Regions from separate parts of the Homo sapiens genome. Here regions 1, 2 and 3 are each linked to region 4. The links are contacts of gene promoters, found by promoter capture Hi-C in human tissues and cell types (Jung and others, 2019). All regions are on one chromosome and are shown on one strand. Each heading gives the region's core, a stretch centred on a gene start or on the middle of the fragment in contact. The rest is flanking DNA. Distances are from core to core; before and after follow the strand shown.

Region 1 (6,760 bases), core at 4,063-6,562, 540 kb after region 4:
GAGCAGGGGTGAGGCAGAGAAGGTCATGTTTAGAGCCAAACCCTAGCCCCTCTGACTGGTGCCTGAGGCTACTCCAATTGTTGCACCAGGCCAGTACATAAAAATGGGTTTGCTCTTAGAGCAGTCTCGATTGGTGCCTGTAATTTGCCAGGACCCAGGGTCATGACCTACTTAGCTCTAGTCACCTGGCCAGCTCTGCCCTGCTGCCACTATAGCCAGGGAGGACATTTATACGCACAGCATTCCTCAACCTCTCCATGTTTGCAGAGTCCAAGTTTGCAGCTTGGTGAGAAGCAGCCGTTGGTGTCTTGGCATTCCCCAGCCCCTTCCCCCATCTGCCCACCTCCAGAATTTCATCATTGCTTGTTGTACTTCTAGCTCCAAGGAATCAGAGATGTGTCTGTTTTTGGTAAATAACTGTATGAAATTCCCCACCCCTGTCGGGAATCTTAAGGGGAAGGCCCAGATGTGCTTTTGTACATGAACTGTTCCCACCAGCCCTGAAACAGCATGGGCTCTAGATTCAACGAGGAGCAACAACAATAATAGTTAAAATGTACTTGAGCACTTACCACATGCCAGACGCTTTGCATGATTGTCTCATTGACTCTTTACAACAATCCTGTGAGGTAGAGGCCTTACAGTCCCCATTTACAGAAGAGACCAAGGATCAGAGAGGTTAAAGGACTGGCCCACAATGATATTGAGTTAGGTCATGGAGGCAGAGCTAGATTTTGAATCCAGCAAGTTTGCCTGTTGAACTTGTGCTCTTACTTAGTATACTCTGCTAGGACCTGAGACAGAGTACACCACTACCTTCCAGGGGACCATCTGGGTTCAATTGTGCAGGTATTCGTTGGGCCTCTGCTGTGCCTCCACTCTGGGCCAGGCTTTTTCTGATCTGGGCAGGAAACTAGAAGTTCCATCCCCACCCATTATTTACAGCCCCAGCTGGGCTCACCCCAAGGGGCCTGAGGCTGCACAAATTACTTGGGCCAGTTCCAGTGCTCACTGATGCTTCTCAGTCATGGGAGGCCCGCCCTCCCCACCACCACCACACAGACACATGAACACACATTTCCCCAGAATCAGCCTCCATTTGTCCAAAACCACTCTCCCCTTTCTCGGCAGCAGAACAAGGTCCTGCATTGAGCCCAACCCTTGGGGCTGTTCTGTCATGTCCCCTGGCAGTACCAGAGAAGCTGTGTCCCTTAGCCCTGGGGTCCTGGCAGTACTCTGGAGTGGGGAAAGGACTAGACAAGGCTTCTCTCTGTCCCAGATGCCTCTGGCTATGCTGCAAGGCCTAAACAACAGCGATTGAGAATGTCAGGGTAGGGCTGGAGGGGCAGGCTGACTCGACTACTGGAGAAGAGAGGAAAACACCCGTCACTGAGCCACAGACTGAATGTTTACTATGAGTACACTCTGTCAGATGCTTTTCATGCATCATCTCCCTACATCTTCTCAGCAGCTTTATAATCCTTACTTTACAGAGGAGGAAGCATACTGCCCAGGCCACTGTGTGTTTTTGACTGGGGTGCATATCCTTGACTTATTTTTATTTTTTTTTATTTTCATTCTTGACTTTCTGTCCCTAATGGGAATCACTGTCTTTCTTCTTTCTCATCAAGAACTGAAAACTACAGGACTAAGTTATCAAACAGGGTACCACAGAGTTCTTATCGTTTGATCCAGTGCCAGGTGGAGTTGGGAGGGCAGGAAAGACAAAAGTTCTGTGACTTCAGTGAGGCCTTTTCTGCCTTGGAAAATGATCTTTAGATGTGGAGATGGCCTGAAGGACAGCTTCATAATCTTGGCAGTCGGTTCAAGTGAAGACAGACAAGGGAATGAGGTTTCCTAGCTTTGAGTGGCAGATGCTGAAGGGGATCTGGAAATCCAGGGAAGAAGAGAGACTTGGGATTGGAGAGATAAAAGGTTGTGGGTAAAAAGTTCCCCCCTGGCTGGGCGCAGTGGCTCACACCTGGAATCCCAGCACTTTGGGAGGCTGAGGCAAGTGGATCACGAGGTCAGGAGATCGAGACCATCCTGGCTAACACGGTGAAACCCCATCTCTACTAAAAATACAAAAAAAAATAAATTAGCCGGGTGTGGTGGCGGGCGTGTGTAGTCCCAGCTACTCAGGAGGCTGAGGCAGGAGAATGGTGTGAACCCAGGAGGCAGAGCTTGCAGTGAGCCGAGATCGTGCCACCGCACTCCAGCCTGGGTGACAGAGCGAGACTCCGTAAAAAAAAAAAAAAAAAAAAGTTCCTCCCTGCCGGACACCATGGCTCACACCTGCAATCCCAGCACTTTGGGAGGCCGAGGCAGGTGGATCACCTGAGTTTAGAAGCTTGATACTAGCATGGCCAATATGGCAAAAGCCCGTCTCTACTCAAAATATAAAAATTAGCCAGGTGTGGTGGCGTGCGCCTGTAATCCCAGCTACTGGTGGGGGCTGAGGCAGGAGAATTGCTTGAATCCAGGAGGTGGAGGTTGCAGTGAACCGAGATCATGCCACTGCACTCCAACTTGAACAACAGAGCAAGCCTCCATGTCAAAAAAAAAAAATGGAGGCACACAGAGCCTGGATTCAGATCTCAGCTGTGTCGCTTAATGGGCTCTGTCACTTAGGGTGTGTGACCTCACCTTCCCAAATCTGTTTTCTCACCTGCAAGATGAGCACACCAAAACAGGATTAAAACAGGGATGAAAAGCAATCATTTTTAGCATAGTGTCTGGCACATAGTAAATGCTCAATAAACAGTATCCTTCATTCTGAATGAAAGTGCCATATGTTATTGCTATTGTCAGTAGTAGCAACAGCAATAGTGGTATTGGTTCTACTATTAATTTTAACCAATGCTGTAGACATAGTATGAGTTGATGACTTTGAATGAATGGATTTAACAGGTGTTCCCTTGGCTGGGCACAGTGGCTCATGCCTGTAATCTTAGCACTTTGGGAGGCTGAGGTGGGCAAGTCATTTGAGAGCAGGAATTTGAGACTAGCTTGGCCAACATAGTGAAAAAAGTAACAGGCAGGACACGGTGGCTAACGCCTATAATCCCAGCACTTTGGGAGGAAAGGTAGGTGGATCACCTGAGGTCAGGAGTTCCAGACCAGTCTGGGCAACATGGTTAAACGCCCCCTCCACTAAAAATATAAAAATTAGCCGGGTGTCATGGTATGTGGCTGTAATCGCAGCTACTCAGGAGACTGAGGCAGGAGAATCGCTTGAACCCCAGAGGCAGAGGTTCCAGTGAGCCGAGATCGTGCCACTGCACTCCAGCCTGGGCAACAAAGTGAGACTCCATCAAAAAAAAATAGCCAGGCATGGTGGTGCACGCCTGTAATCCCAGCTACTTGGGAGGCCGAGGCAGGAGAATCACTTTAACCCGGAGGCGGAGGTTGCAGTGAGCTGAGATCACTGCACTCCAGCCTGGGCAATAGAGCGAGACTCCATCTCAGAAAAATAGAAAACAAAAACTAACAAACAGGTGTTCTCTCTTGGAAGCTTAGAGCAAAGAGCCCCAGGCCAAGAAAATGCACAGTCTTTATAGCCAGGAGTTAGGAACTGTGTGAGATTCATTTTCCTAAGGCTACAAACTTAAGCAGAATTAGGAGTGTATGTGAATTCTAGGCCACAGAGTTCTAAGGGGATCATTAAGAGAAATAGGGCTACAGACAGGGCATTTCTGAGTTTGTATGCAAGGCCAGGTGTCCATCCTTCAGTGTGGGCAGAGGAGACCAGAAGTCCATGGAACTTTTTTTTTAAGTCAATCCTGAAGCATGCTAGATGTCCTTGGAATCGTAAAGGCCTAAGGAACTTGGGTTGAAAGACCCTCAGATGTCTAGGTTTCCAAGACTTTCCTTATAGGTGCTTATTCCTAGCCTCTTGGTTTCCTGGGCCCAGAGATTTGGCTTGTGCCTTTAGAATCTCTGTGTGTATCTGAAAGGAGGGAGACACAGTGAGATATAATAACCACAATACTAGTAAAAGCAGCTAGTGTTTACTGAGGACTTACTCTATGCTGTGGCCTCACATAATTCATAGCAGCCATGCCAGGTAGGAATGATTCTGGGCTCCACTTTACAGATAGAGAAAATAGAGCTCAGTGAAGTGATCACACTTGCCCAGAGTCACATGGCCAGTAAGTGGTGGTAAAGGGACATATGCCACATCTCTGCCTATTCCTTTTCATCACCCACTCCTTTGGGGTCCTAGCTCTGTCTGGTTAGAGCCAGCTCCTTTGCCCATTTCCAAGACCTCACCATTAGCACATCTCTCAGAACTCCTTTGTGAGATATTTGTAAGTCATCACCTTGGCTACAGATGTGAGCTCAGTTGCCCAAGGGTGAGAGCGTAGTTGGCCTCAGACCTAAATCTTTGTCTCTTTTCCCAAGTATTGGTATTTTTTGTCCCTCTCCTTGTCCTGTCAGCATTATCTCCATCTTCCACCCTGTTTAGCTAGTCACAGAAGTGCTAATGAGGTTTTTTTTTTCTTTTTCTTTTTTTTTTTTTTTTTTTTGAGACGGAGTCTCACTTTGCCCCCAGGCTGGAGTGCAGTGGCGCGATCTCGGCTCACTGCAACCTCCACCTCCCGAGTTCAAGTGATTCTCCTGCCTCAGCCTCCCAAGTAGCTGGAATTACAGGCATCCACCACCATGCCCGGTTAATTTTTGTATTTTTAGTAGAGACAGGCTTTCACCATGTCGGCCAGGCTGGTCTCCAGCTCCTGACCTCAGGTGATCCACCTGCCTCAGCCTCCCAGAGTGCTGGGATTACAGGCGTGAGCCACCACGCCCAGTGCTAATAAGGTCTTTGAGGGGGAGAGTCAGACTTGTAACAGTTCCTACCCAAGCCTTCTTTGATGTGGCCAGCCTGGGGCCATATTCTTAGGGACCTCCCTTGTGGGTTGAAAGGGGAAACCTGAGGCCGGGCGCAGTGGCTCACGCCTGTAATCCCAGCACTTTGGGAGGCTGAGGCGGGTGGATCACGAGGTCAGGAGATCGAGACCATCTTGGCTAATGCGGTGAAACCCTGTCTCTACTAAAAATACAAAAAATAAGCTGGGCGTGGTGGTGGGCGCCTGTAGTCCCAGCTACTCGGGAGGCTGAGGCAGTAGAATGGCATGAACTCAGAAGGTGGAGCTTGCAGTGAGCCAAGATCGCGCCACTGCACTCCAGCCTGGGCGACAGAGCGAGACTCCGCCTCAAAAAAAAAGAAAAGGGAAACCTGGCTTATCTCCACAGGGTAGACTCAGGTCCTCACACAGTGGGATAGAAAGGAGAGGTCAAGATGACCATGACATGGAACAGCCAGGGAATGCTTCCTGGAGGAAGGTAGTAAGTTAGGCCATCTACAAAAGAGAATTTGTATAGGAGGAAGGAGGTTGTTGCGGGCCAAAACCTTGAATCTCAGCCAAGGTGTGGAGCTTGGATAAATACATACTGTGGAGAGAACCCCAAGGAAGATGGGGAGATATCCTGAGCTGAGTCTTTATCTGGAGGAATGGGAGATGGAGGGTGCCCTGGAAATGAAGGTGATGTTAGGCTAGGAGTTCTTGGACTTGAGTCTGTTGGTGCTTGCTGGTTGCCATTATAAACTCCTGGTCAGGAACATGACATCCTGTTGTGATTTAGGAAGATAAATGCATCTGGATGTATGGGATCGATTGGAAGGGGAGAATCTAGAAGCAGAGAGACCAGTTAAAAAACAATAGCAAGCATTTATTATGTCGCCAAACCACTTTGTGTTCTTTGCTAGCTCATTGAATCTCAAAGCAACACTGTGAATTGGGTACTGTAATTATCTCCAAAATTTCGCAGATAATTTAGTGCTCCATGAGGTTCAAGGTAGCTTACCAAGATCTAGCTAGTAAGCTGGGGTGTCTAGACCATCTGATTCCAGAGCCCAAGCTTTTAACTACCATATACCACTGCCTTCTCCATTCAGGAAGGAGACTGCTTTTTGGCAGGGGAAATGGCATAGAGGCCATGAAGAATGGAGGAAGGAGTCATGGAGATAAAGCATGAGAGCAGGCCTGGGGACAGGAGTTGTTCAGATTCCAGAGTAGCAAGTTTGGCTGATTGGGAGGCACTGCAGGTTTCTGAGAACAGGAGTGATAGAACAAAGAAAAATTACTCTACACCAGCTGTGGTGGGCACATGACTGTAGTACCAGCTACTTGGGAGGCTGAGGCAAGAGGATTGCCTGAGTCCAGGAGTTCTGGGCTATAGTGTGCTATGCTGATTGGGTGTCTGCACTAAGTGTGGCCCCAGTATGGTGACCTCCTAGGAGTGGGGGACCACCAGGTTGCCTAAGGAGGGGTGAACTGGCCCAGTTTGGAAATGGAGCAGGTCAAAACTCCCGTGCTGATCAATAGTGGGATTGCACTTGTGAATAGCCACTGCACTGCAGCCTGGGCAACATAGTGAGACCCCATCTCTTAAAAAAAATAAGACAAAAATTACTCCAGAGGCAGGGTCAGTGTGTTTGATCTCACCTATATGAGGGATAAGTTTGGGAGTTATGAAAAGAAAATCGTTATGAAAAGAAGATTGGAGCTGAGGGAATAGGCCATAGGCAGTGCTCTCAGGTGAATAGGAGTACCCCACCCTGGCTCTCCTGATATTTCTTCTTATCCCTTCTGTAGCCATCGTCAGCCAGTGGCAGCAGGAGTCCAAAGAGAAGGTGGTGTCCCTCCTGCTGTCCCACCTTCCCCTGCTTCAGCCAGGCAACACAGAGGCCAAGTCGGAG
Region 2 (6,681 bases), core at 4,182-6,681, 580 kb before region 4:
AGATTCCTGCAGGAGCCTGCATATAGGGGCCCTGCTTGCTGGGACTGGGGATGGGGGTGGGGTGGGGAGTTCAAGGGAAGGCAAGGTCTAGGATATAAATCCCAAGGGCGTGGGCTCAGCAGGGCCCGTTCTCATGCTTTCTGGCCCGGGAGGAGTGATTCTCCATCTGGCAGGCCCAGCTGCAGTGCTGGGACAGGGACATGAGCAGAGGCCACAGGAGGAGAGAGGGAGGTTGTGGGGGGAGCTCGGGGAAGCCCATGGTAACCCGGGGGGAGGAAAAACAGCCACACAGTGTTATTGTTACAGAACCATTAAATACAACTTATACACAAGCAAGCTGGGCGGCGTCCGGGGGGCAGGGAGAGTGCAAGAGGGTCAGGGGTGAGCAGTCCGGGCCCGGTCCTGGAGGGGGCTGAGGCTGCCGTCGTGGGAGGGGCTTGGCTGGCGGAGGCCGGGCTGCCTGTGGAGGCCTTGAAGCTTTGCCAGCAGCTCCTGGATGAAGTCCTGAGACAGGGTGGGGGAGCTGAGAACATGGGAACAGTGCGGGGGCACCCTCTGCCCCTGTCCAGCCCAGTCCCTGACCTGGGCGCCTCCTCCTGTTCTCTGATTGTGGGGTGGGGGGAGTTAGGGGCGGAGGCTATAGACATAGAGAGAAAAGTGAGCCGGGAGAAAGACAGAGATGGGGAAAGGGCGATGGGAGGGATGGAGAGAAAGAGCTAGGAAGAGAGATAGAGATCCAAGGAGACAGATACGGAGTGGGGGAGGGGGAGAAACAGACACAGAAACAGAGAGACATGTAGAGATAGAGACAGAGAGAGACATAAGGACAGAGAAAGAAACAGAGACATGTGGAGACAGGTCCCCAGAGATAGATCCAGGGCGAACAGAAATGCAATGACGTTTGTCCCTAGAGCTAGTTGGAGAAACATGAATAGTTTTCCCTTTTAAAGCAGGGAAGGAAGTGGGAGGGGTTGGGCCGCTCAGCTTCAGGGCCTGGGAGGATGGAGGGCCCCCAGAGGTGGGGAAGGGAGCCCGGGGTGGCGGAGGCAGTGACAGGGGAGGACAGAGGGAGACTGAGCCCGAAGGCTGGTGGCCAAAGGACAGGCACAGGAGAGGCAAAAACAGGGCAGATGGGGGAGGACAGAATGGAGCCCCCTCAGCAGATGGGGGAGAGAGGGAGAGAGACAAGTAGGAGGACAAAAGACACCCCTGGAGACCAGAAAGAGCTGCGGAGGGCAGGTTGGGGCCGGGGGTGGTGGGGCCGGGTGGTGTTCCCCAGAGACCCTTCTGCCAGCTTCTTCCCCCTCCCCCATCAGAGTACTTGGGGCCAGAACAGGGAGAGAATGAGGGAGAGAAAACTCACCTCGACAGGTTTCCCACATGACTTCAGGAGTCCCTAAAACCCCCAACCAAGAACAAAACAAAACAGTAAATGACTAACACCTACTCCCCTCCAGCCCCTTCCCTTTCCCAAAAGGCCCCAGCAGCAAGACAAATGGAAGTCAGACTCCAGGGTGGACTGCCCACCAAGCTTCAAGAGAGGAACAGAGCCCAAGGGGCATGTGGATCGACTCAGGGCAGGGGTGAGTTACTAGATCCAGAGAGGGCGAGAGGGTCACACAGCACTTCCCTCCTCTAAAAAGGTATAAGCCATAAGCAAAGACATGGCTGCCAAACTGCCTGGGTTCGATGCCCAGCTCTGCTCCTTCTGAGCTGTGTGACACTGGGCAAGGGATTCAACCTCTCTGGGCCTCATTTTCCTCATGGGGAAAATGGAGCTCACACTAGCGCCTGCTTCGGAGGGTTTTGTGAGGGTTAAGTGAGTGAATACATGTAAAGCCATCACACCAGTGCCCGGCATCTAGTGAGCACTCAGTAAACACGTGAACTATTGCTATTATTTTTAGGGAGGTGCAAAGTGGGAGGCTGGGGGACACGTCCCCCCACCTACCTGGATTTTCCGGCTTCTCTCCTCTTCACTCTCTAACTCCAACAATTCATCAATGTTGATCTCATCGGGCATGTCTGCCTCCTAGGGCCAGGGAGGGAGGGGTGCTTAGGATCCCCTTCCCTCCCTCCCTCGCCTTTGTCCAGGGCTCTGCAGGAGCCCCACCGGCCCCAGGGCCCAGCTGGCGGGTTCTGGAGCATTAATGTGGCAGTCCGGGACAGCACTGCCAAGACGGGACATCTGGGTGTTGGGGGGGAGGGGTGACAGATGGGCTGAGAGAGCCCCGGGGCCCTGTACCAGCCCGATGCCTGGGCCCATGGGCCCCGGGAGCCTCGGGGCTGGCACGGGTCTCTCGCCTTGGCTCTAGTTCCCACAGAGGAAAACAGGCCTAGTGGAGTCCTGGAATGTCAGATTCTGGGATTCGGGAGAGGAGCTGGCTTCTGCCCTTTCAAGGAAAAGTCTTAGCACTAGGTGCAGGGGAGGAGAGGCTGGCAGCCAGCAGCCAGCTGGGGCGGCCCCTTCCCCCAGGGGACAGGAAGGGAGGGGACAGGAAGGGAGGGGACGGCTTGGGCCAGCCCCCAGAGGGCCAAAATGCAGCCTGGTGAGACCGAAGGGAGGACCACCGAGGCCCCTCAAGGTGGGTGGGTGGGATGAGTCATGGCTCAACTCAGCTGCTAAGAGCGGGGCGCTGAGTGTGGCCTCTACAGGCAGTGGCCCAAGCGCAGGCTGGCTCAGTACCCCTGCTGGGAATAGGACCCAGCTGTCCCCAGCTGTCGAGGGAGCAAGAGAGCCTTGGGGTTATGAATCCTTTCCTCCCCAACCCAAAGTCCGGCTGTCGGCTTCAGGCCTGGGGCTTCAGGGCTGGATGGTCCTGGTTCATGTGTGGTGAAGGGGCTTCAGCAAGGACACAGGTGTGTGAGTCTCTGCCAGGGCCACAGCCTGATGCCAAGGGCCTGGGGCTGGCCGAGGATGCAGAGGGACCTGGCATCGTGCAGTGGCTTCGTATAGTGGACTGTGGTCCTGCAGGTGTGAGGTGTGTGGCTCTGGCTTGGGTGTGTGACACATCAGCATGTGTCCACAGTCAGCTGTGGGGCCCACCACCTGAGAATGGCCTCATAGATGCCACCTGCCACTAGCAACCAGATTGGTTCACCTGTATGGGCCCAGGTGTGAGTCTGAGAACAGAGGGACTGCATGTCACCATGGGAGAAGGGCCATGCCTTCCACCATTGTCGCACCATGAAGAGGAGGACTCGTGGGTCCTGTGTACACTGTAGCATACAGAAGTCACAGAAGGCCAGGCGCAGTGGCTCACGCCTGTAATCCTGACATTTTGGGAGGCCGACAAGAGAGAATTGCTTGAGCCTAGGAGTTCAAGATCAGCCTGAGCAACATAGCGAGGCCCCATCTCTTTTTCTTTTTTCTTTTTTTTGAGACAAAGTCTCCTTCTGTCACCTAGGGTGGAGTACAATGGCGCGATCTTGGCTCACTGCAACCTCCGCCTCCCGGGTTCAAGTGATTCTCCTGCCTCAGCCTCCCAAGTAGCTGGGATTACAGCTGCCTGCCACCATGCCCGGCTAATTTTTGTAATTTTAGTAGAGACAGGGTTTCACCATGTTGGCCAGGCTAGTCTCGTACTCCTGACCTCAAGTGATCTGCCCACCTTGGCCTCCCAAAGTTCTGGGATTACAGGCGTGAGCCACTGTGCTCGGCCAATGAGGCCCCACCTCTAAGGAAAAGAAAAAAGAAGTCACTGAAAGTGTGACTTCAAGCAGAAACTCAAGTGATGAAGTACCTGTGTGTGTCAATACATGTAGCTGTGGCTTAGGCTCTTGTGTGCCTGTGAGCAGCGGTGGGTTCTGCAGTTGTATGTCCACCTGTTCCTATAGCTTACAGTTTTTTGTTTGTTTGTTTGTTTTTGAGACGGAGTTTCGCTCTTGTTGCCCAGGCTGGAGGGCAATGGCGGGATCTCGGCTCACCGCAACCTCCTCCTCCCGGGTTCAAGCGATTCTCCTCCCGAGTAGCTGGGATTACAGGCATGTGCCACCACACCCGGCTAATTTTGTATTTTTTAGTAGAGACGGGATTTCTCCATGTTGATCAGGCTGGTCTCAAACTCCTGACCTCAGGTGATCCGCCCGCCTCGGCCTCCCAAAGTGCTGGGATTACAGGCGTGAGCCACCGTGCCCGGTGCTTACACAGTTTTATGTCTGGGTGTAGTTATAAATTCTGTTGGGTTTTGTTTGTTTTTGAGACACGGTCTCGCTCTGTTGCCCAGGCTGGAGTGCAGTGGTGCAATCTTGGCTCACTGTGACCTTGGCCTCTCAGGCTCAAGCAATCCTCCCACCTCAGCCTCCTGAGGAGCTGAGATTACAAGTGCGTGCATGCCACCACGCCCGGCTAAGTTTTAAGATTTTTGGTAGAGACAGGTTTTCCCCATGTTGCCCAGGCTGGTGTTGAACTCCTGACGTCAAGCAATCCTCCTGCCCCGGCCTCACAAAATGCGTGAGCCACTGTGCTGGGCCAATTTCTGTTGTTTTATGTCTTTGAGTGGCTGCGGATCAGCGCTTGTGCTTGAAGGTGGTCAGTTTTTTCTTTAGGAGATAAGGAAGGGCCGTAACTTGAGTCATTTTGTGTTCCAGTGGGGTTGTGCTGTGTCTGCCTACGGCTGTGGCCCATGCCGCTGTGTCTGCGGGTGGCTGTGACTGTAGCATATGTTGAACTGTAGGTGACCCCCCCCCAGCCCCCGCTTGTGTCCTTGTGGGTTTGTGCATGGCTGTTACTTCTGGGCTGTGTCCGTGAGTGGCTATAGCTTCCTTCACTGTGCACATCTGTGTCTGCTTTTGCTTCCTTTGCCGTGGGTCTCTGTGTGGCTGTATCTCCCCTGTCACCATGTCTGTGTTTGGCTTTATGACACCCCCCTTCCCCCACTCTTTCTCCAGACGTGGCGGTTTCAGCTCAACTTAGCCTCCTCCCTCCTCATGCTAAACCCCTGGCCCTCCACAGGCGTTTGGACACATCTCTGGAGACCCAAGTCTTTGTGTGTTGCTCTCGGTGTGTCCACAAGCACAATGCCATAGAGCACGGATGGCCAGGCCAATGAGTGCCCGGCCCTGGGGCGCTCGTCCTCTTGTGCAGACCAGGCTGGCCGTGCACCAGCGAGTGTGCACCGAGACCCCAAGGGCGTGGGGTCTCCGCGCCCGGGCTCTATCTGTCCCCGACCACCCCCGAGCCCTCCCCGGGCTCACCATGCCGCGGTACAGCTCCTCCAGGCGCCCGTCGATCCACTTCTCCACGTCCAGCCGCCGCTGCAGCTCCCGCCGGTCATACTTGACGGTGACGCGCGCGTGCCGCTTCTGCAGCCCCCCGGGACTGCCCCCTGGCCCGCGGGCCCGCGATGGAGACTGCAGCTTGCTCAGCACGCGCTTGCCCAGCCGCTGAGCTGCCATCGCGCTGCTGGACCCAGCCTGGCCCCGCGCTGTGCGCCTTCGCCTCGCGCCCCGGGTGCTTCTTACGGGCCAGGGCGGGGCTAGCCGGGGGCGGGGGCTCGGGCTCGCCGGGAGGTCTGCCCCACCCCGGCCGCCTCAGGCCTCAGTTTCCCCGTCTGCAGTGCGAGAGTAGGCCGCTGCGTCGGCTTGAGGCACGCAGTCGTGCGAAGTTGAGGTATGGGCGGGGACCCAGAGTCCCGGGCGGGTCCCTGCATCGGGGGCTCCCGGGCCGGGATCCTGTGGGGCGGGGGCCTGGGACAGACACTCGGGACCCGGCCTGTCTGCGCCCTCTGGCGGTGGCGGGGTGGGGGGCTGTTGGTGCGGGAGCGCCTGCGCCGCTGTCGCTGTAGAAGGTCGAGCGGTCACTTGTTCCTTCGTTCATTCATTCACTCATCCATCCATTTGTTTGTTCACTCATTCCGTTCAACGAATTTTTTTTTTTTTGAGTCGATGTCTCTCTTTGTCGCCCAGGCTGGAGTACAATGGCGCGATCTCGGCTCACCGCAACGTCCGCCTCCCAGGTTCAAGCGATTCTCCTGCCTCAGCCTCCGAAGTAGCTGGGATTACAGGGATGCACCACAACACCCGGCTAATTTTTGTATTTTTAGTAGAGACGGGATTTCGCCATGTTGGCCAGGCTGGCCTCGAACTCCTGACCTCAAGTGATCTGCCTGCCTCCGCCTCCCAAAGTGCTGGGATTACAGGCGTGAGCCACCGCCACTGGCCCGGTTCAACGAATATCTATTAAGTATCCACTCTATACCAGACACTGCTTTACGCTCCAGGGATAGAGCAGGGAACAAAACAGACAAAACCAGTCCCACGCAGTTGACAGTTGTAGCCGGGATACATGAGAAACACAGTAAGTACGGTATTATACAGTTTATTATCATATAAGTGCTTTGGAGAAATATAAAGCAGAGAAGGAGAAATGGAGTGAGGGTAAGGTTGCAATTTTAGCGAGGGTGGCCAGGGAAGTCCCTTACTTCAAAACAGTCTTCTCACTTCTAATTATAAGCAGCAATAATTATACTCTAAAATTTAAATGTGGCTGGGCGCAGTGGCTCACTCCTGTAATCCCAGAACTTTGGGAGGCCAAGGAGGGTGGATCACGAGGTCAGGAGTTCAAGACCAGCCTGGCCAACATGGTGAAACTCCATCTCTACTAAAAATACAAAAATTAGCTGGGCCTGGTGGCACATGCCTGTAATCCCAGCTACTCGGAAGGCTGAGGCAGGAGAATCG
Region 3 (6,765 bases), core at 311-2,810, 580 kb after region 4:
TGCCTCCTGGGTTCAAGCGACTCTCCCACCCCAGCCTGCTCCCTCCCCGCCCCCGAGTAGCGGGACCACAGGGTGTGCGCCACCACACTCAGCTAATTTTTGCATTTTTGTAGAAATGGGGATTCGCCGTGTTGCCCAGGCTAGTCTCAGACTCCGAGCTCTAGTGATCCGCCTGCCTTGGGCGCCCAAAGTGCTAGGACTACAGGTGTGAGCCGGGCAGGAGAGTAACTTCACTTTGGTTTCCTCCTGCCTTAAATGGGCATACCACCTGGCATTAGGATTAATGTGCGTAAAGTACTTAGAACTCAGCCCAGGTGAGTTCTCCTTAACTCAGCCTAGAAGAGATCATCCGCCCGAGGGTGAGGGGGCTAGAGCCGCCCTGTGAATTGGGAAAGGAGGCCCCTTTTCAGCCTTGCCAGGTATCCTGGACCCCACCCAACCCACTCACTCACCCACCCAACCCCAGCAAGTGGGGAGAGGGAGAGCAGTCCAGGTCTCCTTATCTGTCTGGGCTGTTTAGGAGTGAGACCACACAAGGCAGGCAGTTCTCAGAGAATTCCCCTCCAAGGCCTGCTGGCTCTTTCTTGGCACTTTGCTCTGCAGATTTCTTTCCGTAAGTGCTTATTTCTCACAGTCTTTCTCCTTTTTGTCCAGTTTCTTTTTCTTTTTAATTTTTTTAAATAGTATTTTTTGTAGACATGGGATCTCACTGTTGCCCAGGCTGATCTTGAACTCCTGATCTCAGGTAATCCACCTGCCTCATCCTCTGAAAGTACTGGGATTGGCCGGGCTTGGTGGCTCACACCTGTAATTCCAGCTCTTTGGGAGGCGGAGGTGGGAGGATCGCTTGAGCCCCGGAGCTGGAGATTAGCCTGGGCAACATAGGGAAACCCCGTCTTTCAAAAAAAAAAAAAAAGAAGAAGAAAAAGGAAAGAAAAACACAAAAAGTGCTGGGATCACAGGTGTGAGCCACTGCGCTCAGCCCCTTTCTGTTTCTTTTTGTGATCCTCCCAACCCTCTTCTCCCTCTGAATCTGTCTCTGGGACTGTCTCTGTCTCCCCGTCTTCCCTCCCTTCCTCACCCTGTCTATCTCTCTCTGTATGTCTCTTGGTGTGTGTGTCTCTCTCGATGTTTTTCTCTCTGCCTGTCTGCCTGTCTGTACCCCTCTGCGTCTCTCCCCGCCCCCATCCGTCTGTGTCGCACGCGCACCCCCATCGGGCTTCTGCTCTTGTCAATTGCCCCTGGGGCCCTGCCCCCACCTCCGCCCCAGTTTCCTTCTACAAGCCTCAGTCTCCAGCTTTGAAAACTGGGCAGGCGTCCCCCCATCCGCACCCCCACCCCTTCCCCACGCATTCCCCGCTCGGTCACGGCTGTCCACCGGCCAAGCTCAGGCGCGTCCTGGCCCAGGGCCGGGCGGAAGGGAACCAGTCCAGGGCCAGCCAGGCTGCGCCGGGGGCGCGCGTCCGGGAAGCGCCCCTCCTGCCCCGCCCCCGGCCCCGGCCCCGGCCCCGCCCCGTGCTTGCAGTTTCCTATAAGTAGCCGGCTCTCGGTGCCAGCCTCAGCCTGACTTCAGCGCTCCCACTCTCGGCCGACACCCCTCATGGCCAACCGTTACACCATGGATCTGACTGCCATCTACGAGGTGAGTCCCCGCCGCACGGCATCCCCGGTACCTGCATGCCTGAGTCCGAGTCCCCACCTCTCTAGCGCCGCAAACTCCAGCCCGGGACGCTTGCCTCCCTTCTCCAACTGGGGCTCCCTAGCGCCGCGCCCTCCAGCCTGGGGCCCCTGCCTCCCGCTCAGACCAGCTTGGTGATTTGGAGGTGAAAATGGAACCCGCGACACCCGGCTCTTCGCTCAAACATGGGTGGGGCGGCCCATGCAAGTGGAAAGTCGGAGAACTTTTCTCAGACCGAGGCTGCCTGGAGGCGGAAGTGGCCCCCATACCTGGCTCACCCCTAGTCGTTGCTGAGGGCGTGGTTTTGCGCGGAGGCGTCTCTGGGGCTGAAGTCTCAGGGTGGGGGGATCCGACTTCTGTCTCTCCAGTCCCTGACCGTAGAGACAGAGAACCCTAAAACCGAAGCAATCCGGACTTCCAGGTCAACTTTGCCCGGTTTCTCCAGTTGTGAAACTGGAGATCCCGACGCGTGGGTCATATCCGGGGAGGACAAGAGACCCAAAATTGGGAAACAGTGGTGCGCCCTGACTTCGGGGTCCCCCTCTTGGTCCAGCCGGGGAAGCCGGGATTCCTGGGTCCCTCGGGATAAGGCCTCGGTGGTGGGTAAACTCAGAACCTCCAACTCTGGGTTCCTGGCATCCGGAACCCAGGGGTTTCTGCGGGCGGGTGGGGCTCAGGCGGGGAGCCCACAAACCGGCCTGGCAAGCTCTAGTTCCCTGCAGCTGGGGTGGGGCGTCGCCCTGCATTTTCAGGTGCCTTAACCGACCCATTTCCGCAGAGCCTCCTGTCGCTGAGCCCTGACGTGCCCGTGCCATCCGACCATGGAGGGACTGAGTCCAGCCCAGGCTGGGGCTCCTCGGGACCCTGGAGCCTGAGCCCCTCCGACTCCAGCCCGTCTGGGGTCACCTCCCGCCTGCCTGGCCGCTCCACCAGCCTAGTGGAGGGCCGCAGCTGTGGCTGGGTGCCCCCACCCCCTGGCTTCGCACCGCTGGCTCCCCGCCTGGGCCCTGAGCTGTCACCCTCACCCACTTCGCCCACTGCAACCTCCACCACCCCCTCGCGCTACAAGACTGAGCTATGTCGGACCTTCTCAGAGAGTGGGCGCTGCCGCTACGGGGCCAAGTGCCAGTTTGCCCATGGCCTGGGCGAGCTGCGCCAGGCCAATCGCCACCCCAAATACAAGACGGAACTCTGTCACAAGTTCTACCTCCAGGGCCGCTGCCCCTACGGCTCTCGCTGCCACTTCATCCACAACCCTAGCGAAGACCTGGCGGCCCCGGGCCACCCTCCTGTGCTTCGCCAGAGCATCAGCTTCTCCGGCCTGCCCTCTGGCCGCCGGACCTCACCACCACCACCAGGCCTGGCCGGCCCTTCCCTGTCCTCCAGCTCCTTCTCGCCCTCCAGCTCCCCACCACCACCTGGGGACCTTCCACTGTCACCCTCTGCCTTCTCTGCTGCCCCTGGCACCCCCCTGGCTCGAAGAGACCCCACCCCAGTCTGTTGCCCCTCCTGCCGAAGGGCCACTCCTATCAGCGTCTGGGGGCCCTTGGGTGGCCTGGTTCGGACCCCCTCTGTACAGTCCCTGGGATCCGACCCTGATGAATATGCCAGCAGCGGCAGCAGCCTGGGGGGCTCTGACTCTCCCGTCTTCGAGGCGGGAGTTTTTGCACCACCCCAGCCCGTGGCAGCCCCCCGGCGACTCCCCATCTTCAATCGCATCTCTGTTTCTGAGTGACAAAGTGACTGCCCGGTCAGATCAGCTGGATCTCAGCGGGGAGCCACGTCTCTTGCACTGTGGTCTCTGCATGGACCCCAGGGCTGTGGGGACTTGGGGGACAGTAATCAAGTAATCCCCTTTTCCAGAATGCATTAACCCACTCCCCTGACCTCACGCTGGGGCAGGTCCCCAAGTGTGCAAGCTCAGTATTCATGATGGTGGGGGATGGAGTGTCTTCCGAGGTTCTTGGGGGAAAAAAAATTGTAGCATATTTAAGGGAGGCAATGAACCCTCTCCCCCACCTCTTCCCTGCCCAAATCTGTCTCCTAGAATCTTATGTGCTGTGAATAATAGGCCTTCACTGCCCCTCCAGTTTTTATAGACCTGAGGTTCCAGTGTCTCCTGGTAACTGGAACCTCTCCTGAGGGGGAATCCTGGTGCTCAAATTACCCTCCAAAAGCAAGTAGCCAAAGCCGTTGCCAAACCCCACCCATAAATCAATGGGCCCTTTATTTATGACGACTTTATTTATTCTAATATGATTTTATAGTATTTATATATATTGGGTCGTCTGCTTCCCTTGTATTTTTCTTCCTTTTTTTGTAATATTGAAAACGACGATATAATTATTATAAGTAGACTATAATATATTTAGTAATATATATTATTACCTTAAAAGTCTATTTTTGTGTTTTGGGCATTTTTAAATAAACAATCTGAGTGTAAGCTGGGATCCTGGCTTCTTCGCGGTCTAGAGACAGGAATGGAGAGGGAGGGGGTGACTTTTTGGAAGCTGGGTGCAGTTAACTCTTCCTCTCCGAGCCCCGCGGCGCTTACCTGGCAGGAAGTGACGTCACCGGGCCTGGCCGTTCACCTGAAAGGGTGGGACCAGGTGAGGTCACCAGATGGGAACCGGGGGAGCCAGTTCCCGGGCGTCGGGGGCGCCGCGCTCCCGTCCTGCTGGGCTCCTTGACCCAGCTTCGGGCGGGTGCGGTCGGGGACGGGATGTTTCCGTCCCCACGGGGCCGCGGGAGGCGGGAGGGGCCGGGTGGGGAGGACGGAATGTGCTGGGGCGCGCGCCCAGAGCGAGCGGGGGCGGGCGCGGGGCGGGGCAGCCTGGGGTAGCGGAACCCGTTTCGGGACTAGAGGTTCCGGGGGGGCTTCGACACCTTCTGGATGTTGGGGAAGCGGGTTTAGGGTCTCAAGAGGCTAGGATCTCAACATTTGGGAGTCACAGGTTGCATCCCCTAGCGCTTTAGACTCTAGACCCCTGGTGGCTCGGAGTTGCAGATTTCTGGCCACCCGGGACCCTGGAGCCCGGGAATTACCGGGTCTTGGCATTTCCGAACCTTGGAAGTCCGAGGCTTCGCACACCGACCAGGGTCGGCCCCGCGAGGCCAGGGCGTGTGGGTAGGGGCCGCGCGTCTAGGAGGGGCCCCGGGGGAGCCGCGTCTTCAGACCATACAAGGCCAGCGTCGTCGGGACCAACCCCGGGGCCCCGCGCCCGGAAGCCGCCCTGCGTCAGCGCCTGCGGCTCGGCCCTGCCGCCCAGCCTTCGCCCCCTGCGACCCCTCTTTTTTCTCCTTGCCCCGCACTCCTCCCTCCTCCCTCTCACTTCCCTCTTCTCTCCTTTCCCTACCCTCACCCTTCCTCCTCTTTTTCACTTCCTCCTCTGCACCCTTCTGCCCCGCCCTACACCCTTTGCCTTCTGTTCTTCTCTCCCCCTCCAATTTGTCCCCTCCCTCATTACTCCTCTCCCACTTCCAGCCTCCCCATCCTGCCGTCTCTTACCCCCTTTCTCCTCCTTCCCGTCTCCCTTCTCTCCCTTTTTCCGTCCTTCTTTCCCTCTCCACCCTTTCCTTGCCCTCCCACTCCCCATTGTCCTCTTCCCCTCCTCCCCCTAGCCTTACTCCTTCTCCTCTTCTCTCTCCCTCTGAAGCCCCTTTCCCTCCTCTCCCTTCTCTCTACCCTCCTCAAGCCTCCCTCCTGCTCTCAGGCCTCCTTGGCCCACTCCCCTTGCTCACTGACATTTGGTCTCCTCTTCCAGGAAACTGCTTCCCTTGTGGGAAAGGGCTCAGGCCCTAATAAGTAGAAGAGGATCAGGCGAGAGGGAGTCAGAACCCCTGAGATGCAAAGGCAGCAGAGGGGCAGAGACCAAGAGCAAGCAGTGAAGAGACATTTGCAGAAACAGTCTTGGAGACTGAAAGAACAACATCTCTGGTCCTTCCTTTAGCCAGATCTGATTCTCTGCCCCTTCCCCAAAAAATCCCTCATATAAGAAAACGGCACTTCTCACCATCTACCAGGGCTTAAGCCAGACACCCAGGAGTATCCCTTGACACCTTGTTCTCAAATCCACACCCCAGTCCAACAGCAATCCTGTCTGATCCACCTGCAAAATAGATCCACTATCCACCTGCCCCCACCATGACCCCCACCCTGGTCCTAGCCAACATCGTCTGCCATTTGCATCTTCATAGCAGCCCCAGCCCCAGTCTCTGCTCTAGCCCCTGCCTTCAGTCTCTCCTTTCTCCACTCCCCCACGAGACAACCAAAGGAAGCCTGTTATGAGACCTGAGTCAGGTCACATAAAAGTCAAAGTCCGAAGTCCTCCCCACAGCCCACACAATCTGGCACCCATCGCTTACCCTCCCCCTTGGCCACTCTGCTCCAGCCACACTGGCCTCCTAGCTGCTCTACCAAGTCTGGTCTGCTTCATCCATAGGAGCTTTGCACTAGCTGTTCCCTCTGCCTGAACACTCCCCTGGTGTCCCCATGGCTCACTCCCCTCCTTCATGTCTCTGCTCAAAAGTTGCCTTCTCTGTGAGATCCTCCCTGACCACTGCTGTTGCAATCCACACCCCACCTCCAACTACCCCATCCTCCCTACCTTGCTCGACTTTTTCCATGACATTTATCATCACCACCTAACATTAAAATGTACTTAATTCTTATGTTGACAGCAATCTGCCTCCCCACTAGAATGTCGCGTCCTCAGGGGCAGGGACTACTTGTTCACTGCTGTATTACACACAGCTAAAGGAAGCCAGGCATAGTGAATGTTCAATATTTATTGAAAAAACAAGTCGACTCAAAAACATAGTTTTCCTTTTCAACAGAGGTCGAAAACTCCAAGACAGATAGCTATGTTCATCTGTAAAGGAGGCATTAAAAAGACAGAGAAATACAGAGGAGGCAGAGTCATATACAGTTTGCCGAGGACCCACATCTCTACAGAAGTCAAACTGTTTGCACACAATTCCATGCCCAGAGCATCTAATAAGAGACGATACCCCCACCTGGTGGCTGGGACGGAAACGGCACCTCCCTACAATACAGAACACCCAAAGGACCGTCGCCAAAGCCCTAG
Region 4 (6,806 bases), core at 1,298-3,797:
TGTACTCCAGCCTGGTCAACAGAGTGAGACTCCTTCTCCAAAAAAAAAAAAAAAAAAAAAAAAAATTAGCTAGGCCTGGTGGCGGGCATCTGTAATCCCAGCTATGCAGGAGGCTGAGGCAGGAGAATTGCTTCAACCCAGGAGGCAGATGTTGCAATGAGCCAAAATTGCATCACTATACTCCAGCCTGGGTGACAAAGCGAGACTCTGTCTCAAAATAAATGAATAAATAAAATAAAATAAAATATGAACCAAATGGAAATTGGAGAATTGAAAACTACAATATCTGGGCTGGGCGTGGTAGCTCACGCCTGTAATCTCAGCACTTTTGGAGGCCGAGGCGGGCAGATCACGAGGTCAGGAGATCGAGACCATCCTGGCTAACACGGTGAAACCCCGTTTCTACTAAAAACACAAAAACTTAGCTGGGTGTGGTGGCAGGCACTGGTGGTCCCAGTACTCGGGAGGCTGAGGCAGAAGAATGGCCTGAACCCGGGAGGCAGAGCTTGCAGCGAGCCGAGATCGCACCACTGCACTCCAGCCTGGGTGACAGAGCGACTCTGTCTCAGAAAAAAAAAAAAAAGAAAGAAAACTACAATATCTGAAATTTAAAATCAGTGGGTAGTAGCTGGGCACGGTGGCTCACGCCTATCATCCTAGCACTTTGGGAGGCCCTAGGTGGGTGGATGACCTGAGGTCAGGAGTTTAAGACCAGCCTGGCCAACATGGTAAAACTCCGTCTCTACTAGAAACACAAAAAATTAGCCGGGCGTGGTGGCGGGCACTTGTAACCCCAGCTACTTGGGTGGCTGTGGCAGGAGAATCACTTGAACCCAGGAAGCAGAGGTTGCAGTGAGTTGAGATTGCACCATTGCAACAAAAGCAAAACTCCGTCTGAAACAAAATAAAACAAAATAAATCACTGGATGGGCTTTACAGAAGGATAGAGATGACTAAACAGTTAGTAACTGTGACCAGTGGAAATTCTCCAATCTGAAGAAAAGGTCAGTGGGTCAATCCAAAGATCCAACTGACCTGTAACTGGAAATCAATTAGTGAGTTGAATAGTTGCACGAAAGCATGTTATTATATTATATGCTGACACAGCTATAGGCTGAGAGGTTAAGCATGTTGTTCATGGCCACAGATCCAGGATGGAAACCTAGACTTCAGAGCCTATGATCCCATCGTGTTCTGTCAGACTAATACTTATATTTGAATGTTTTAAAGTAGGCCTTTTTTTAAAAAAATGATAGGGCTGGCCATGGTGGCACCTGCCTGTAATCCCAGCATTTTGGCAGGCTGAGGTGGGAGAATCGCTTGACCTCAGGTATTTGAGGTTACAGTGATTTATGATTAGGCAACTGTACTCCAGCCTGGGTGACAGAGAAAGATATTGTCTCCAAAAAAAAAAAAAAAAACACACAGATAAAAGTGTGAGTTAGGGGCCAGGAGCAATGGTTCAGGCCTATAATCCCAGCACTTTGGGAGGCTGAGGCAGGCAGATCATAACGTCAGGAGATGGAGACCATCCTGGCCAATATGGTGAAACCCCGTCTCTACTAAAAATACAAAAATTAGCTGGGTGTGGTGGCCCACGCCTGTAGTCCCAGACAGAAGAATTGCTTGAACCCGGGAGGTGGAGGTTGCAGTGAGCTGAGATTGCGCTACTGCACTCCAGCGTGGCAACAGAGCAAGACCCCGTCTCAAAAAAAAAAAAAAAAAGTGTGTAAGTCAGAAGCTGCTTAAAACCCTAATTCAGAAGCACTGCTCCACTGTCTATTGCCAGGAGCTAGGAAGGCTGGCAGGGTGTGTGAAGAGCGTCTGGTACCTGCAGTGAACATTTTTCCTGCACCAGAGATCACCACCGCCCGACAGTCAGCGTCTCTCGAAATCTTGTTGAAGCACTCTACCATCTCTCTGTGAAGCAACGAGTGAAGGGTTACAAATGGGGCGGGAATACCCTGCCCTCATGTCCATCTTCCCACAACGTTCCACTTTCACCCAGTCCCGCAGCCCCGCCTCCCCCCGCAGGCAGGCCTCCAGGATCTGCAGGTCAGACCTCCAGAAGACCTTGTTCATGGCATTCCTCTTGTTGGGCCGGTTGAGCTGGACATGCAGAACATGTTTCTGCGCAGACGTCACACGAAGGGACTCATAGCTGTGGTCTGGGGCTTCACCGAGGGCTACTCCGGAAGCCTCCTCTTGTGCAGAGGAGCCAGTGAGGCGAAGGCTAATACTGAGTCCCGGGTAGTTGGAGCCTGTCAGTCCTGGGGAGAAAGGAACAGCCTTTGATGACCCCAGACTGCAAGACACAGGCCTATCGAATTAGGGAGTCCTTCAAAAGGGAGCACACGCACCCCTGAATTTAGGGGACTCGGGCCCTTCGTGACCCCGGATAGCCCTCCCCGTCCTACATCTGCTATAACAGCACGACAGCGCGACGCACCCCCATAAGGCAAGAGGTGACTCACGCCGGGTCAGTAGGTCGCGGAGTCTGCGAGAAGCCACTATCCCCGCCGCCATCGCCGCCGCCTTCGTCTACTGCGTTCGGACGGAGTAACGTGCCCGTTAGCGGAGGGGGCGGGCACAGAAGGCCGCCATGTTGAGCGAGGGCACCGATGCCGCAACCTGACAGGCAATGACGCCGTTCTTTCCGCCATCTTTACTAAGGGCAGTCGATTTCCGGTTGCCTTACATAGAGCCAGGCTCAGAAATGGACCCTTTGCCCCAGTGGGAACCTGGCCAAAGAAAATAGCTCCTGCAATGGCGTGAACCTGGGAGGCGGAGTTTGCAGTGAGCCGAGATCGCGCCATTGCTCTCCAGCCTGGCGACCGAGCGACACTCCGTCTTAAAAAAAACAAAACAAACAAACAAAAAAAAAAACAGAAAAGCAAACAGCTCCCGCTAAAGTTCATCACACAGCTGTTTCATAATGGTGGAATAATAGGCGACAGCTGAAATGTCCAAGGACATAATTGCAGCAGAGCTTGTAATCATGCATGTATATATCATGTTAACTAAAAATAAAAGAAAACTTGCAGTACTGTGAGTTTACTCAGGTAAAGGAATGAGTACAGACGGGCCAACATTAAGCGCTGACTGTATAATATGAACTCCCACCAGGAGGTCGTACTATTTCCTACTATATGCAGAGGAAACTGGCCCAGGCACGGGAAGACACTAGGTTCAAGGTCGGTGGGCTTCAGAAGGGCTAAAGCAGGATTACCTGGCACCAGAGTTCATGTTCTTAGCCTGGCGCAGTGGCTCACGCCTGTAATACAAGCACTTTGGGAGGCCGAGGCAGGCGGATCACCTGAGGTCAGGAGTTCAACAGCAGCCTGGTCAACATGGCGAAACCCCGTCTCTACTAAAAATACAAAAATTAGCCGGGTGCGGTGTCCGGCACCTGTAATCCTAGCGGGAAGAGAATGGCTTGAGCCCAGGAGGCGGAGGTTGCAATGAGCAGAGATGGCACCACTGTACCCCAGCCTGGGCGACAGAGCAAGATCTCAAAAAAAAAAAAAAGAAGAAAAAAAAGTTCATGTTCTTAAAAAAAACAAACAAAACAAAAAAACCGAAATTCCCTTGGGAAAAGCCAGCTACCAAAAGGCATAAAAAGTACTGTAAAACTGCTGGCCGGGCGCGGTGGCTCACGCCTGTAATCCCAGCACTTTGGGAGGCCGTGGCGGGCAGATCACGAGGTCAGGAGATCGACCTCCTGACCTAGCTAACACAGTGAAACCCCGTCCCTACTAAAAAAATACAAAAACTTAGCGGGCATGGTGGCGGGCGTCTGTAGCCCCAGCTACTGGGGAGGCTGAGGCTGGAGAATGGCGTGAACCCCGGAGGCGGAGCTCGCAGGGAGCCGAGATGGCGCCACTGCACTCCAGCCTGGGGACAGAGCGAAACTCCATCTCAAAAAAATAAAAAAAAAAAGTACTGTAAAACTGCTTAAGTATGCTTTTTGGGGAGACATTGAGCAAGGCGGTGAACAGATGTCTCTGGGCCAGTGAGATTGAAGGAAGTATCTTTCCTTAATGAACCTGTCTCCTGTGTGTTTTCACAGACTAGAAAAGCAGGCTCTTTTGAAAGACAGAACCATTAACTACCCATCAACAGTAGACTGTTTATACCATAGAAAACTCTGAAACCTCTATGCAAAAATAAAAATGTGTGAGAAAAAAATGTGAAGATGTAATAGAACATTTAGTATGATCCTTTGTTCCTTTGGTGTAAGAAAGTATAGCTGGGCTGGGTGCGGTGGCTCAGGTCTGTAATCCCAGCACTTTAGGAGGCCCAGGCAGGCAGATCACCTCAGGTCAGGAGTTTGAGACCAGCATGGCCAACATGGTGAAACCCAATCTCTATTAAAAATATAAAAATTAGCCAGGCGTGTTGGCTCATGCCTCTAATCCCAGCACTTTGGGAGGCCAAGGCGGGTGGATCACAAGGTGAGAAGATCGAGACCATCCTGGCTAACACGGTGAAACCCCATCTCTACTAAAAATACCAAAAATTAGCCGGGCGTGGTGGCGGGCGCCTGTAGTCCCAGCTATTCGGGAGGCTGAGGCAGGAGAATGGCGTGAACCCAGGAGGCGGAGCTTGCACTGATGTGAGATCACGCCACTGCACTCCAGCCTGGGCCACAGAGCAAGACTCTGTCTAAAAAAAAAAAAAAATTAGCGGGGCGTGGTGGCAGGTGCCTGTAATCCCAGCTACTTGGGAGGCTGAGGCAGGAGAATTGCTTCAACCCAGGAGGCAGAGTTTGCAGTGAGCTGACCTCATGCCACTGCACTCCAGCACTTCAGCCTGGGTGACAGAGTGAGACAATGTCTCAAAAAAAAGAGTGTAGCTGGACCTGCACAGAATATGGTGTATGTATGTAATATCTCTGGAAGGAGACTCAAACTGGTAACAGGAAATGAAATTGGATGCTAGGAGACAAACTGGTAAAATTCACTTTTTATCACCTTGACTGGCTTAAAAACAATAAACCCTAGTTGATTTTATTTATGGCTGCAAGATGACTGTAGTTTTTCCTTGTCTAAAGATTGTTTGAAACTTCCCATAGTGAAGCAAAACTTGTTCATCTGCCAAATGATGCTTTTGTGATGTCATTAAATGTTAAAAATGTAAGGCCGGGCGCAGTGGCTCATGCCTGTATCATAGCTACTTTGGGAGGCCGAGGCCAGTGGATCTCAGGAGTTCGAGACCAGCCTAGCCAATATGGTGAAACCCCATCTCTACTAAAAATACAAAAATCAGCCAGGCATGGTGGCACATGCCTGTAATCCCAGCTACTTGGGAGGCTGAGGCAGGAGAATTGCTTGAACCAGGAGGCAGAGGTTGCAGTGAGCCAAGATTATGCCATTGCACTCCAGCCTGGGTGACAGAGCAAGACTCCATCTCAAAAAAGAAAATTTTATTCACAGTAAATTCCCCAGAGTGGGCTATTCTCAAGCACACATGCATAAACTTCAAGGTTTGTGACCTGCTCCTCTGCAGGTCACCTCTTCCCTCCAGTAGGAGTCAAAATCCTTAAACCAGGATCCTTCCGGGTGGTACCCGCCACCGCAAGGCATCTTCACAGATTTGCATCTGCAAGTGGGAAGCTATCTACCGTATGATGCAATTATATAGATCCTTTAAGTTTTGAGACATGGTCTCGCCCTTTCGCCCAGGATGGAGTATAGTGGTGCCATCACAGCTCACAGCTCAAGTGATCCTCCTGCTTCAGCCCCCATGAGTAGCTGGGACTATAGGCACAGTGTGTGCCACCATGCCCACATCATTTTTCTATATATTTTTTTCTCGAGACGGAGTTTCACTCTCGTCACTCAGGCTGGAGTGCAATGGCACAATCTCGGCTCACTGCAACCTCTGCCTCCTGGGTTCCAGCGATTCTCCTGCCTCAGCCTCCTGAGTAGCTGTGACTACAGGAACGTGCCACCATGCCCGGCTAATTTTTATTTTTTTAGTAGAGACAGGGTTTCACCATGTTGGCCAGGCTGGTCTCGAACTCCTGACCGTAAGTGTTCCGCTCACCTCGGCCTCCCAAAGTGCTGGGATTACAGGCGTGAGCCACCATGCCCGGCCCACTTTCTTATTTTTTGTAGACAGGGTTTTGCCATGTTGCCCAGGTCTCAAAACTCCCGGCCTTAAGTGATCTGCCTGCCTTGGCTTCCCAAAGTGCTGGGATTACAGGCATGGGCCACTACATCCAGCTATATATATCCTTTAACCCAGCAATTCCACTGGCAGGAATTTATCTCCTGATCAGTATCAGGGAAGCTGGCCAAGATACTTGTGTAGATACGTGTTACAGCGCTGTTTGCAATAGCAAAAATAGACCTGGAAACTACCCTTTGGGACCAGGTTAAATCATGACACATCCACACAATGATACTGCAAGGGTAAAGACAAGTCACTCTGAAATGATACAGAACACAAAGGTTTTGGGTTTTTTTGACACCCTGTTGCCCAGGCTGGGGTGCAATGACCCCATCACAGTTCACTGCAGCATCACCCTCCAGGGTTGGGGTGATCCACCTCAGCCTGCTAGGTAGCTGGGACTACTGGCATGCGCCACTATGCCCGGCTGATTTTTGTATTTTTAGTAGAGACAGGGTTTCACCATGATGGCAAGGCTGGAAACCTTTTTTTTTTTGAGATAGGGTCTCATTGTCACCCAGGTTGGAGTGCAGTGATGTGATCACTGCACTGTTAACCTCCTAGGCTCAACTGACCCACCTGCCTCAGCCTCCCGAGTAGCTGGGACTACAGGTGTTCCACCAAACCCACCT

What was found. The method cuts DNA at HindIII sites, captures the fragments that hold promoters and counts their contacts. A contact is called where the count stands out against the background at its distance.
Region 1: a contact is called between a fragment that was not itself captured here and the fragment with the promoter of ECH1 in region 4, in 1 of the 25 tissues and cell types used here (dorsolateral prefrontal cortex).
Region 2: a contact is called between the fragment with the promoter of PPP1R14A here and the fragment with the promoter of ECH1 in region 4, in 1 of the 25 tissues and cell types used here (bladder).
Region 3: the fragment with the promoter of ZFP36 here is called in contact with the fragment with the promoter of ECH1 in region 4 in 1 of the 25 tissues and cell types used here (dorsolateral prefrontal cortex).

The regions. Positions count from the first base shown.
Region 1 is chr19:39,362,999-39,369,758 of GRCh38, forward strand. It overlaps SAMD4B (sterile alpha motif domain containing 4B), which reads left to right. Exons shown (of 14, transcript NM_001384574.2): 4 at 6,657-6,760. It also overlaps the pseudogene RN7SL566P. Among named protein-coding and RNA genes, the nearest start is that of SAMD4B, 24 kb to the left of the region's middle. The HindIII fragment of the contact is 4,760 bases long and covers 2,933-6,760 here.
Region 2 is chr19:38,250,943-38,257,623 of GRCh38, forward strand. It overlaps PPP1R14A (protein phosphatase 1 regulatory inhibitor subunit 14A), which reads right to left and starts at 5,432. Exons shown (of 4, transcript NM_033256.3): 1 at 5,197-5,432; 2 at 1,952-2,032; 3 at 1,364-1,396; 4 at 295-504. The coding sequence starts at 5,397. The coding sequence ends at 376. RefSeq lists a silencer at 5,224-5,411. The HindIII fragment of the contact is 12,856 bases long and covers 1,005-6,681 here.
Region 3 is chr19:39,405,287-39,412,051 of GRCh38, forward strand. ZFP36 (ZFP36 ring finger protein) reads left to right here and starts at 1,561. Exons shown (of 2, transcript NM_003407.5): 1 at 1,561-1,642; 2 at 2,457-4,121. The coding sequence starts at 1,619. The coding sequence ends at 3,413. MIR4530 (microRNA 4530) reads right to left here and starts at 4,392; the gene lies at 4,337-4,392. RefSeq lists silencers at 1,155-1,604, 4,395-4,454, 4,805-5,124 and enhancers at 1,725-1,924, 1,975-2,612, 2,613-3,251, 3,252-3,889, 4,152-4,742 and 1 more. The HindIII fragment of the contact is 20,061 bases long and covers 1-6,765 here.
Region 4 is chr19:38,829,247-38,836,052 of GRCh38, forward strand. ECH1 (enoyl-CoA hydratase 1) reads right to left here and starts at 2,548. Exons shown (of 10, transcript NM_001398.3): 1 at 2,475-2,548; 2 at 2,063-2,270; 3 at 1,832-1,920. The coding sequence starts at 2,526. The region is part of intron 1 of LOC124904712 (a long non-coding RNA gene); the gene reads left to right. RefSeq lists an enhancer at 2,447-2,596. The HindIII fragment of the contact is 9,746 bases long and covers 2,443-6,806 here.